Linked DNA regions of Homo sapiens: region 2 is linked to region 1. Evidence: promoter capture Hi-C in 16 types of primary human blood cells and fetal thymus (Javierre and others, 2016). All regions are on one chromosome and are shown on one strand. The core of a region is centred on a gene start or on the middle of the fragment in contact, and the rest is flanking DNA. Distances in the headings are between cores, read along the strand shown. Region 1 holds the start of SCG2 (secretogranin II). Region 2 overlaps KCNE4 (potassium voltage-gated channel subfamily E regulatory subunit 4).

The links. Contacts are between HindIII fragments. The CHiCAGO score rates a contact against its expected background, and 5 or more counts as called.
Region 2: a contact is called between a fragment that was not itself captured here and the fragment with the promoter of SCG2 in region 1, in 1 of 17 cell types (M1 macrophages). The highest score is 5.0, in M1 macrophages.

The regions. Positions count from the first base shown.
Region 1 is chr2:223,599,763-223,605,270 of GRCh38, forward strand. SCG2 (secretogranin II) reads right to left here and starts at 2,599. Exons shown (of 2, transcript NM_003469.5): 1 at 2,523-2,599. The HindIII fragment of the contact is 835 bases long and covers 2,427-3,261 here.
Region 2 is chr2:223,052,322-223,057,775 of GRCh38, forward strand. KCNE4 (potassium voltage-gated channel subfamily E regulatory subunit 4) reads left to right here. Exons shown (of 2, transcript NM_080671.4): 2 at 487-3,316. The coding sequence starts at 510. The coding sequence ends at 1,022. Among named protein-coding and RNA genes, the nearest start is that of KCNE4, 2.9 kb to the left of the region's middle. RefSeq lists an enhancer at 177-724. The HindIII fragment of the contact is 633 bases long and covers 1,517-2,149 here.

The DNA.
Region 1 (5,508 bases), core at 1,349-3,848:
AGTTGTGTCAAAAAACATGTGGTTTATTTCCTGAAATGTCCATCTAATTTTGTTGCTGAAACACAGCTGCAGTTACATGACCATATATGACAAAGTAATACTTTTATATGTCAATCATACCGAATTACCTTCTGGGGAGTCCTATCCAGATATATTTTTCAGAAATAACTTGTTCTCAATCTGATACCGAATCCAATGATCCATAAATAACCTCCAGAACACGGGTCTTCTCAGATTCCAGCCAGTAGACTAAACCAATGAAGTTTCTTTTTGTGTGAACGTGCTAAACCAATAAAGTGTTTTAAAATCTCTTTGCTTCATATTTCTTCTAATAATTTATATTATGACTGTCTTGCAAAATGCAATTGTGGTTATACTTTTCATCAGCCCTTCAGAGTGTATAGTAAATAATAACAGATGCTACAGAGAGAACATAAGTTTTTTTAGCTAGTCTATTTCTGAACTTGTGAGTGTTCAGATTCAGTTTGTCTTCTGTCTGTGTCTATTTTGGTATGGACCTGTGAAATCTTAAATCACTCATACTGTTTAGAAAAATCTTAAAATAACCACTATGTAAATCCCAATTCAAATAAACACAGATGATGTGCTGAATTCTTCCTACTTAAAAATCTCCATTCATTATTTCCTCCGATGCCTTAAAATCTTACATAGGAATTAGGAAGAGGATTAGTTTTTATGTGTTTTACATTTAATATTGCTAACATTGAAAAAACTATTTTAATATTGGCTATTTTGTTGTAAACAAAATGAATGTAAGAGGAGTTTACAAGTTTGTTCATATCTTTACCAGATCATGGTTTTGTGATAGATAAGCTAAGTTATATGTATACAATTTTCTGTTAGCTTAGACATCAATTGTAGAAAATACCATTGTTCACAAGATCATATTGATGATTTTGTTTCCAGTTTTTTAGAGCCCAATAATGGCTTAGTTATGAAAACATTTTAGCATACGTATATACCTATTTAAATGATTCACGTTTACCAGAGTACTTAATTTATTGAAAGAAACATCTTGAAAGGCATTTGAGAGGATACTTCCAAAATATTTATTATAAATACATGTTTACTATAAGTAATTTTATTCATAAAATAATGAGGTTCAAATAAAAATACATTATGCACTCTTGTTTATATTATTTCAGGATTAATGTAGCTTTGGTAATCAACTTTCAACATTGGCATTTGAAATAATAATCTTAAAAACCTTACTGAACTTATTTTTTTTGAAGCCACAATACTGAAATAGTCTTAACATGTGGATTATATGCTCATCTTTAAAATCATTATCTTGGAACTGCACTTTGCTGTAAAGTTGAAGCAGACTACTCATTGCAGTTGTTTAAACCACAGCCTAAGAAGTGCTACCCTTTGCTTAACTATTCAGCTTCAGTTTGAATGACATAGTTATTGCCTTTGAGTGAGACCCAAAGGATTCTTTTCCCAGGTAGCAGCTCTTTCAAGTAGTAAAGATGTTTCAACAGCTCTACTATTCTATATGGGGTTTGATTTAAAATTGAATTTTCTGAAATCCAAATAATTAGAACATTATTTTTCCCCTGATAGCTATCATTAAAATCTCTCAAGTTAAAATGTCTTTTCTGTTGAATTCAGGCTAGAGCATTGACACATGCAGGTGACTATATGTAATTTAAGCAATTCAACTAGTTGGGATACAGAAAAAATGAAATACTTGTCCCAGACAAAATCTTTAGCAACATATTGAACATCCTCTTTAAATCAAATTATAGCAATAACAATAACAATTTACAAAGTTATGAGTATTTTCATCATGTATTCAAAATGATCATTTCTCTGTAATTCATGGTCACAGCCAAATTACAACCCAAGATAATATTTTGCCCTGGAAAAAGGAAGAATCCAGTGTTCAGGAAAATCCTAAGTTAACATCTTAGAACTAAAATTAGGAGATAATAATGTAAGCTCTTTCAAATATACAAGTTCAGAAAAGAATTTTATGTGGTTAGTTAATTCAGAGCTCTTGTAAGATAAATATCAAAGAAAAAAAACCTAGTTCCAAAATGGGTTGCCTTTATGACTAACATGCTTGACAGCCTTTGTATCATTGGAAACCTACTGTTAAGAATATTAAACATATAAATTATACCCCTGGCTTCGTATCTGGCTCTTAGTGGCAGAAATAATAAATTTTGGAAAGAAACAAGATATTGGGCTTGGTTAACTTTACATTAATCTGTGTATTGACACTAAAATCCTTAACTTTTTCACTCTTTTTTATATGATTATCTAAGTAACATTCTGGTTAGTAAATATCCAACATCAAGTAGTATAAAGCATAGACCCGATCATGTATATACACATATGTAGTGTCCTTACATTGGCTGATGAGCAGCAGGTTGCTATTCAGTTATCCTATCGACATAAGCTTGCCAAACAGTCTTTTTCTTCTCAGCTAGGAATTAAAAGAAGAGCATGCAATTTGGAACTTTCCAATAAATCAAAGAGAAAAGCAGCCTTACCTCTTTTTGTTTATATGGCAGAGGAGCTCCACAGCATATTCCTCCCCGTTCTCCGGGCGAGCTTCTCGGGCCGTTTCAGCACACGGACAGCTCCTCTGCTTATAGGGAGCCGCTGCGCCTGACTCCGCACTGCCACACTGACGTCACCGGGTTCAGCCACAAACCCCAGCACAAGCGAGGTTTTTCAAAGAACCAAGAGAAAATAATCACTTTATATTTAAAAAAAAAAAAAAAGAAAGAAAGAAAAGAAAAGAAAAAAAAGTTGCATGCTTACGCCACCTGTCTTTTTGTGGCAAAAATTGCAGTTTTCCTTTTTCTTTTATCAAAATCTTTGAGACGGAATAAACTGCTCTGCACGATTTCTCTTACAAAGAAAGAAATGTGTGTCAGACAGACATGGCTAATTGCAAGACAATCTCATCTATGTTCTAGCAACTTGTTATAATAGTTTCTTGGTGTCACTGTTGTAATTGTTGTCGTCGTTGTAAGAAAGTTTTACAGACAAGGATTATTTTTTCATCTTTGCCCACAAAGAAATTACATTACCATTTCCTGTTATAACCAAGATGAATGGAGGACACATTATAAATATGAAAGGCCATATTTCTTATCATGACCACAGCCATCATTCTTTTAAAATCATATTTATTTGAATAAAACAGAGAGTTCTCTCTCTTTTATATGAGAGCCAACTTTAATAGCTTATATAGTTTTTTAAATGGGTATTTATCAGACTTCAAGCTTAGTAGCTAATAATTCTTTATATCTCTGTTACTGTCTTTCACAATATCTGATCTCAGAAAGGGAAGCTCAGAAGTTGAGTGCTGATGAAAATACTTTCATCTACTTAAAAAAAAAGTCTTTTCACTGTTTGGGAAAAATGTGACACATACGTAACTAGAATTCATTTGCAATCGAAAGGAAGTTGTACTATAAATATTTCCCTTCTCCTGTTGAATCAGATGAGTTGAATACCTTCCATGAATGTGAACAATCCAGGGAATAATACAGCAATTAACTTTCAACCTCTCAGATTTATAATTCATAATCATTCCTCTGCCTTACCAGATAACCTGATTATATATTTCAATAATTTATATGGATATAAATTTTAAACTTTATTTTATTAAAGATATGAGTTTCTAAAAACTGTATATGTTGACATATACTTTAAGAATGCAACAGAATCTTGCCATATAAGAGATCCCATGTGTTTCTGCTAAATGAACAATCAGCCACTGACTCAATAAATTGTAATACCTACTAGGTGCCAGATACATTGCTAAATGCACAATTGTTAACTAATACAAAAATAAGTGATTTTTTTGCCTTTGATGAGCCTTTCAGCTAATGGGGATGACATGCAAATAAACACATAATTTTCATATAAATTGGAAAGCATCAATAGAGAGGTTAGCTAGCAGTGTTTGGACCATTTGGATAGCCAATGGGTTCAACCTAGAAATTCAGGGGGAAACAATGTCCTGGAATAAAAGGCCTAAGCTGAGATTTCTCACTATCAGGTTTTCTTACAAGGATTTCTAACTATGTTAGTACTTTTGAATTCCTCGAAAAAATAGGAAATGGCTTAAAGTCTTACAGAAAAAATCTTGGAAAAATGTGCCTCGATTCTCCCTATTTGGTTTTCCTAAACGACTAGGAGATCATCATTTGTGGATTGATATGAATTCATATACACTCAGACTGGGGTTATATGTCCAATTCATCCAACAAATTTTGCCTCATAGTGGTTTTTTAGGGCATGATCAAATGCTGGGTTGAAGAGACCTAAATATGACCCATTTCTCAAGCATCATCTCAATGACACCAGCTCATTCACTGACATCCTTAGCTAAGATTGCCTTAAATCTTAACAAAGCCCTGGCTAGCTGCTCCAAGTTTGACCTAATTTTCTGTCCAGCAGTTCTGTGTGACCAGTTCAACTAACCAGTATCAACGCAGCTTTAGAAAACTCTGCAATTATTCTTAAAATGTTGAGTTTGTTCAGCATAGGTCTCAAAAGCCCTCCAGAAAGTCATCCTGACTAGGCTAATTCATTTATGTGGAACTAAACTTTTTGGCAAGAACCAGAAGCTACGGTTCTTCTAAAGCCCCAGAGTCAACATCTTGCCTGGAAATATCTTCAATCATCCAAAAGACATGCAAAACCTCATTCAAAATCTCCAAGTAGATGTGAGATGCCAGGAGGCTGTTGCTGGGATGGATTGGCTCCACTAGGCTCAAGATGTGGGTAGAACAATAAGCCATTGTGGGCTATTGAATTTCTGCCTATCTTATGAGACTATGATAAATACCTCTCACTTACTGAGTTCTGTTATGATCCAAGCACTGTACTTGGAACCTAATTTAATCCTCCGGACAACTATAACAAGTAGGTATTTTTATCTCCATTTTACAGATGAAGAAACTAAAGCTCAGAAATAAGTAAGTTGCCCACTATTTTGACTTATAATTGGTAGAGCTAGAATTTGTATTTAAGTCCATTCTATGATATTTCTACAATAAAAACTATGATTCAGACACTGCTAGAGATGGAAATACAGAAATAAATATGGGATGGATTTAATCATTAAAGACCCAAGTCCAGAATTTAGTTTCTTTGACAAAAACCCCCAGTTGTCCAGTTGCTTTTCCTGGTCTAAGAAAAGCAAAGGCATAGGCCGGGACTTCTATTTGGGGCAGCACCAATGGAAAGCAAGAATAAACATTAGATCACAGCCTTGATGCTATGGGGCATACATCTTCCAAATAAGAGAACAGTTGCTGAATTAGGAAAATTCTATTCACCAGCCTGTTTTTTCAAAATCAAACTCCCCAAACATATTTTTTAACTTTCAAGTTCAGGGGTACATGTGCAGGTTTGTTACATAGGTAAACTTCTGTCATGGAAGTTTGTTGTACAGATTATTTCATCACCCAGGTATTAAGCCTACTACCCATTAGTTATTTTTCCTGATCCTCTCCC
Region 2 (5,454 bases), core at 583-3,082, 550 kb before region 1:
GACATTTTTGCCAATTAATAGATGAATTTTTTTCCTTTATTTTCTTCCTGCTTTTCTTTGTTCTAAGGAAACATTGTTTTGAATTTAAAATAGTTTGGTTTTGGAAACACAATGTAAACTTTGTTTCTGCTCAGTTAAAATACGTTTCCCAGTTTTAAAGATACTATTTACTGTATGCTCCTGTCTTACATTGATTTTTTTTTTAATCAAAGTAATACTGCTCACTACAAACAGGACAAATGTGTACACTAAAAAAAAAAAAAAAAGTCCTTCTTACTTTTCCCAGTGAACCTTCCCGGGCTTCTCTCCCGTGCACTCCAAGCCCTCATAGCTCACTCTTGTCAGCTGTTTGGCGAACCCTCTTATGCTATTTCTTTCATGCACTTTTAAGCTTTTTTGGTATTGCAGTTCCACAAACCTCGTGCTCCCCCACCTCCCTGTGCCCAGGACCTGGGGGAGAGTTCTAACCTGCGGCTTTTTCCCCAGCCCCTGCTGTGGAGGCAGCCTCAATGCTGAAAATGGAGCCTCTGAACAGCACGCACCCCGGCACCGCCGCCTCCAGCAGCCCCCTGGAGTCCCGTGCGGCCGGCGGCGGCAGCGGCAATGGCAACGAGTACTTCTACATTCTGGTTGTCATGTCCTTCTACGGCATTTTCTTGATCGGAATCATGCTGGGCTACATGAAATCCAAGAGGCGGGAGAAGAAGTCCAGCCTCCTGCTGCTGTACAAAGACGAGGAGCGGCTCTGGGGGGAGGCCATGAAGCCGCTGCCTGTGGTGTCGGGCCTGAGGTCGGTGCAGGTGCCCCTGATGCTGAACATGCTGCAGGAGAGCGTGGCGCCCGCGCTGTCCTGCACCCTCTGTTCCATGGAAGGGGACAGCGTGAGCTCCGAGTCCTCCTCCCCGGACGTGCACCTCACCATTCAGGAGGAGGGGGCAGACGATGAGCTGGAGGAGACCTCGGAGACGCCCCTCAACGAGAGCAGCGAAGGGTCCTCGGAGAACATCCATCAGAATTCCTAGCACCCCCGGGACCCCTGCCGGTGGCTCCATCAGCCAGCAACCTTAGAGAGAGGAAAGACAGTTTTCAAGTGTCTGGTTTCACTTTCACAGTGCGGCTGCCACTTTGAAGAGACCCTTGGTAAACCCCTGATTCGGGGTGGGGTGGGGGACTAGGCTCAGCCGGAACCAGCACCTCCAAGGAGTCCGGGAGGTGCCTGTGGTTTGCACCCACCACTGAAAAAGCCGCGGAGATGCGCAGCGCGTACACTGACTTTGGGGCCTGGGTGTTGGGGTTCTGATCAGAATTTGGCGGGATGATATGTTTGCCATTTTCTCACTGGATGCCCTGGGTAGCTCCTGCAGGGTCTGCCTGTTCCCAGGGCTGCCGAATGCTTAGGACACGCTGAGAGACTAGTTGTGATTTGCTATTTTGCCTAGAGCTTTGTCCTTCTAGATCTGATTGGCTGTAAGTATCTCTACTGTGTACCTGTGGCATTCCTTCACAGTGGGTTACAAGCTTCTTTTGGATTAGAGGGGGATTTTTGATGGGAGAAAGCTGGAGATCTGAACCCAGCCCATTTGCACACTATAAGAAAAAAAAGTAACTTTTAAACCTGTTAACATTGGCCGGGGTTATAAGAGATGATCTTCTATTTTGACCTTTTGTCTAACTTATGACCTTGAACTCTGACCTGTGACCATGCAGCATCACATGATGGCATGACGTTCTTTGGATCAGAAGAGCTTCCCCAGAATCTAACCTGCACTCCCGATGGTGGTTCAGGAGACTCTTCCTGATCTTTCTAGAAGGGGTAAAGTGGGGTTGAACAAGGCCAAGCCGTTAGCTCTGCTGCTGCTCAGTTTCCCAGCCTAGTTTTCTGAGCTGGGAGAGGACATAATGTGGTATTTCGTCACGTAGCTGAGACCTAGAAGGGCATACTCAGGCGGAGATTGCACAAAGCTGGGCTCCAAGTTCTGTGCTTCCTGATCCCGAGCCCTGACACTCATTTGCTGTGTGGTCCCGGGCATGTCATCAAGAAGCTCGCTGTCTGCATGAGGCTCCCGACGATCTCCATCCCCAGGGGGTTGGGAGGATGTCTTTAGATTTTAGGACTCTGTGATAAATATTCCACAGCCTGGTGTGAGGAAGCTTGGACCAAATGCTTCCCCTTTGGCCGGTTAGTCTGAACAAGGATCTGCTGATTTAAAGGAGCAGTTGGAGATTCAGAACACATATAACTGGGGAATTCAGGGCAAGCTACCAACCCAGCCCTGCTGTAGTTTTCCCAGGACTGAAGGAAAGAGGCAGACACCACATTCTCCTCTGCAAAGTTCTCTGGAGAATGTGTGATGTTAACACTCCCAGCTAAGGGAAAGCAAAGTCTAAAGGAAAACACACAGGAATGCTTCCAATGTCTCCAAGTATTCCTGTGGTCAACAGTTTCGCAGATCCGTTAGGCCCTTAAAGACAAGGAGGAAGTAAAAGGTCAAATTTAAATCTATTTAAAAAAACTTTTAAAAAAATTATTTATTTATTATTATTTTTTATTTTTAAGACAGAATCTCGCTCTGTTGCCCAGGCTGGAGTGCAGTGGTGCAATCTTGGCTCACTGCAACCTCCACCTCCTGGGTTTCAGCGATTCTCCTGCCTCAGCCTCCTGAGTAGCTGGGATTACAGGCGCCTGCCACCACGCCCAGCTAATTTTTTGATTTTTAGTAGAGATGGGGTTTCGCCATTTTGGCCAGGCTGGTCTCAAACTCCTGGCCTTAAATGATCCTCCCACCTCGGCCTCCCAAAGTGCTGGGATTACAGGCATGAGCCACTGCACCCGGCCACTTTTTTTTTTTTTAAAGAAAAATGCTCTGCATGGATTGGAGACACAGCAATAACTACTGTTGCCATGGAAGGGTTAACAGTGTAGGAGCTGGTTTATCAGTCCGCTTTGACATACAGCTAAAGGAAATTTATGTTTGGGGGAAAAAGGCCCTCTGTTCACTTTAAAATTCAGTGTGGACTTATGCCAAAGGGGGCTGTTTAAGTTGAAAGAAGCCAAGTTAAGTTTGGCCTCTTGCCTGGAATCACTTGAATTCTGAAATTTCACTGCGACGGACATGTGCCTTGTCACATTTTCCATTGCTTAATCCTGAAGTTTGGTGCAAGTCTCTCTGCACCTATTAAAAAGTGATGTATATACTTCCTTCTTATTCTGTTGAGTTGTATAGAATTGTCTTTTGTATTTAACACTTTGTAATTTTCACAATATTTTTTAATTTAAATAAATAAACACATTTTTTCCCTCCTGGGAAGTCATGAATTCTTTGTTTGATTTTTCAATATAATTGTTAGTTTCGAAGACATCACAGATACGTTTCCCAAGACATCTCTGGATTTTGCTCCTCTCCCAAGTCAGTATCTCCTGAGGGCGTATCTTATTTCTGTCTGAACCATGGGGTGAATGAGGCTTGGCTTTTCATCCTTTGAAATGCTTTGTAATGAATGGAAAACAAGCTGCAGATGGTCTTACATGGACTTCTCTGTTTAAATATGGCAGCCCTGGAGTCTTTGGACTTTGAACATGCAGTGACAGGTCAACTGCTGCTAAGATGTTGCTCCAAGCTTGGTTGCAAGAAAACGTTTGACCTGTATGTTGGCTTGGCAAATATTATCCACACATGTGGCCCAGCAGCACCTGCTAATGGGCAAAGAGCTGCTGTATGAACAGCAACACAAACTTACCAACACAGTGAAGCACGACGTGTGGGGCTGGGGTTGACTCTCCTCCCTCTCCTGGTCTCCTTCAGACTGGGACTGATTCCAGCCCCTCCCACTTGGTCTGTCTGTATCTCTTGCCCACAGGCTGAGGCCGTGGCCAGCCTGCGGCAGCCTCTTCTTCATAATTTTATTTGCATGACCTGTTTTTGAATCAAGCAAATGGTAGGAAGCATCCTTACTTTTATGTTTCTCTGTTTCCTGTGAGATTGGCTTTTCTGTTTCAAGTAAGTGTTTCCCTTCAGTTCACTAGTAACTGTCTACCTAAAAAATTTACCTGGCAACAGTACAGTGGAGCCTGGATCCTTCCCAAACAATATCGAGGGCCCTGATCCATCAGTTGGTACTTTGATGATGTAAGATGAGAAGATTGCTGTAAAAGGCAAGAGAGCCTTTCCATTTGTCCCAGTTTAATGTCGTTCTTCGTAAGGAAATGGTTAAGAATTTTTCTATTTTTTTAAGCCATGGGTGGAAGGAGAGGGAATTCTAAACTCTAATTGTCCTAAAAATATGCAGAGTACACTTTGTCGTTTTAATGGGATATTTGTTTTCTTTAAAAAAAAAAAAGAATTTCTAAGCAGAACCTAAGGCCCAAGGGGTTTAGTCTGTGTGGATTTACTCATGCATGTGAAAAACTGAGAGGATAATTTGGCCCTGTGCACCTAAGATATTAAAAACATATTTTGAAAGCACTTAAATGTTAGGGATGAGGTAAATGGATCATCCTGCCTGCTCCACACTGTTCTAATTACACCTTTGTACGTCAGAGTCAGGCAGGGATGTTACACAGTAGAAGATTTCTTTCACTGGTAGAATCATGGGATCAAATCTACTGGGAAAGGCTGAAGTCAGGCCAAGGAATGAATGCTCTTGGCTCATGATTCTGGTTGGAAAGTGGACCCCCTGGTGCCTTTCAGAGCTGCAACTGGAGGGTTTCATGGTCAGACATGCACTTCTAGGATTCAGCTAAACGAGGGTAATTTATCATCCTGTAAAATGCTGCTCTGACCGTAGACATTGTGGAACAAACAGAACATTGAGCTTAAAATGTAACTTAAACTCCAGCTTCAGGCAGAGCATACTTTTGCCTCATGCCCTTTCCTTAAAGTCTGTGTACTGTGCTGAAGAAAATCACAGGACATATCATCGGTCATGGGACTAGAGGCAGAGTCTAGCGCTGGAGGGAGACCTGTCAGCCAGTTGGTCAGGATGGTGGCTCAGGCTACGCCTGAAACGCGGGGAGGTAGGGTGTAAATAGTGGCCAGTGGAGCCTCAGCCTTGTTATGTCTGGCTTTCTAGCCTAACTCTGCTACCATGTTGCTTGTAGCTCTGGGGAAGCTACCTAACCTTTCTGAGCTCTCTCTTTCAACAAGAAGACAGCATGCTGGCTTTTCTCTTTGGGGAGTTGTTCAAAGAACGGTGGAACGCCCTGAGAAATACTCAAAGAAAAGCAGATTCAGGCTTCTACTTTAAAAATGTGTCCTGGGCATGCATCTGCAAATAAAGTCACAAAACATCCTCTTCTATGGACGCTTTCCTCAGGAGACTGCTGTGTGCTCAGAAAAAGTGCACGCTTTGCCAAAGGAGAAGGGTCACAAGAGGGAAAAACCACTGTTAAATTCAGCCTTCCCCCATTTCTGAAATGTTTCCTCCCACACAGGAAGGAACAGTTTGGGATGTGTG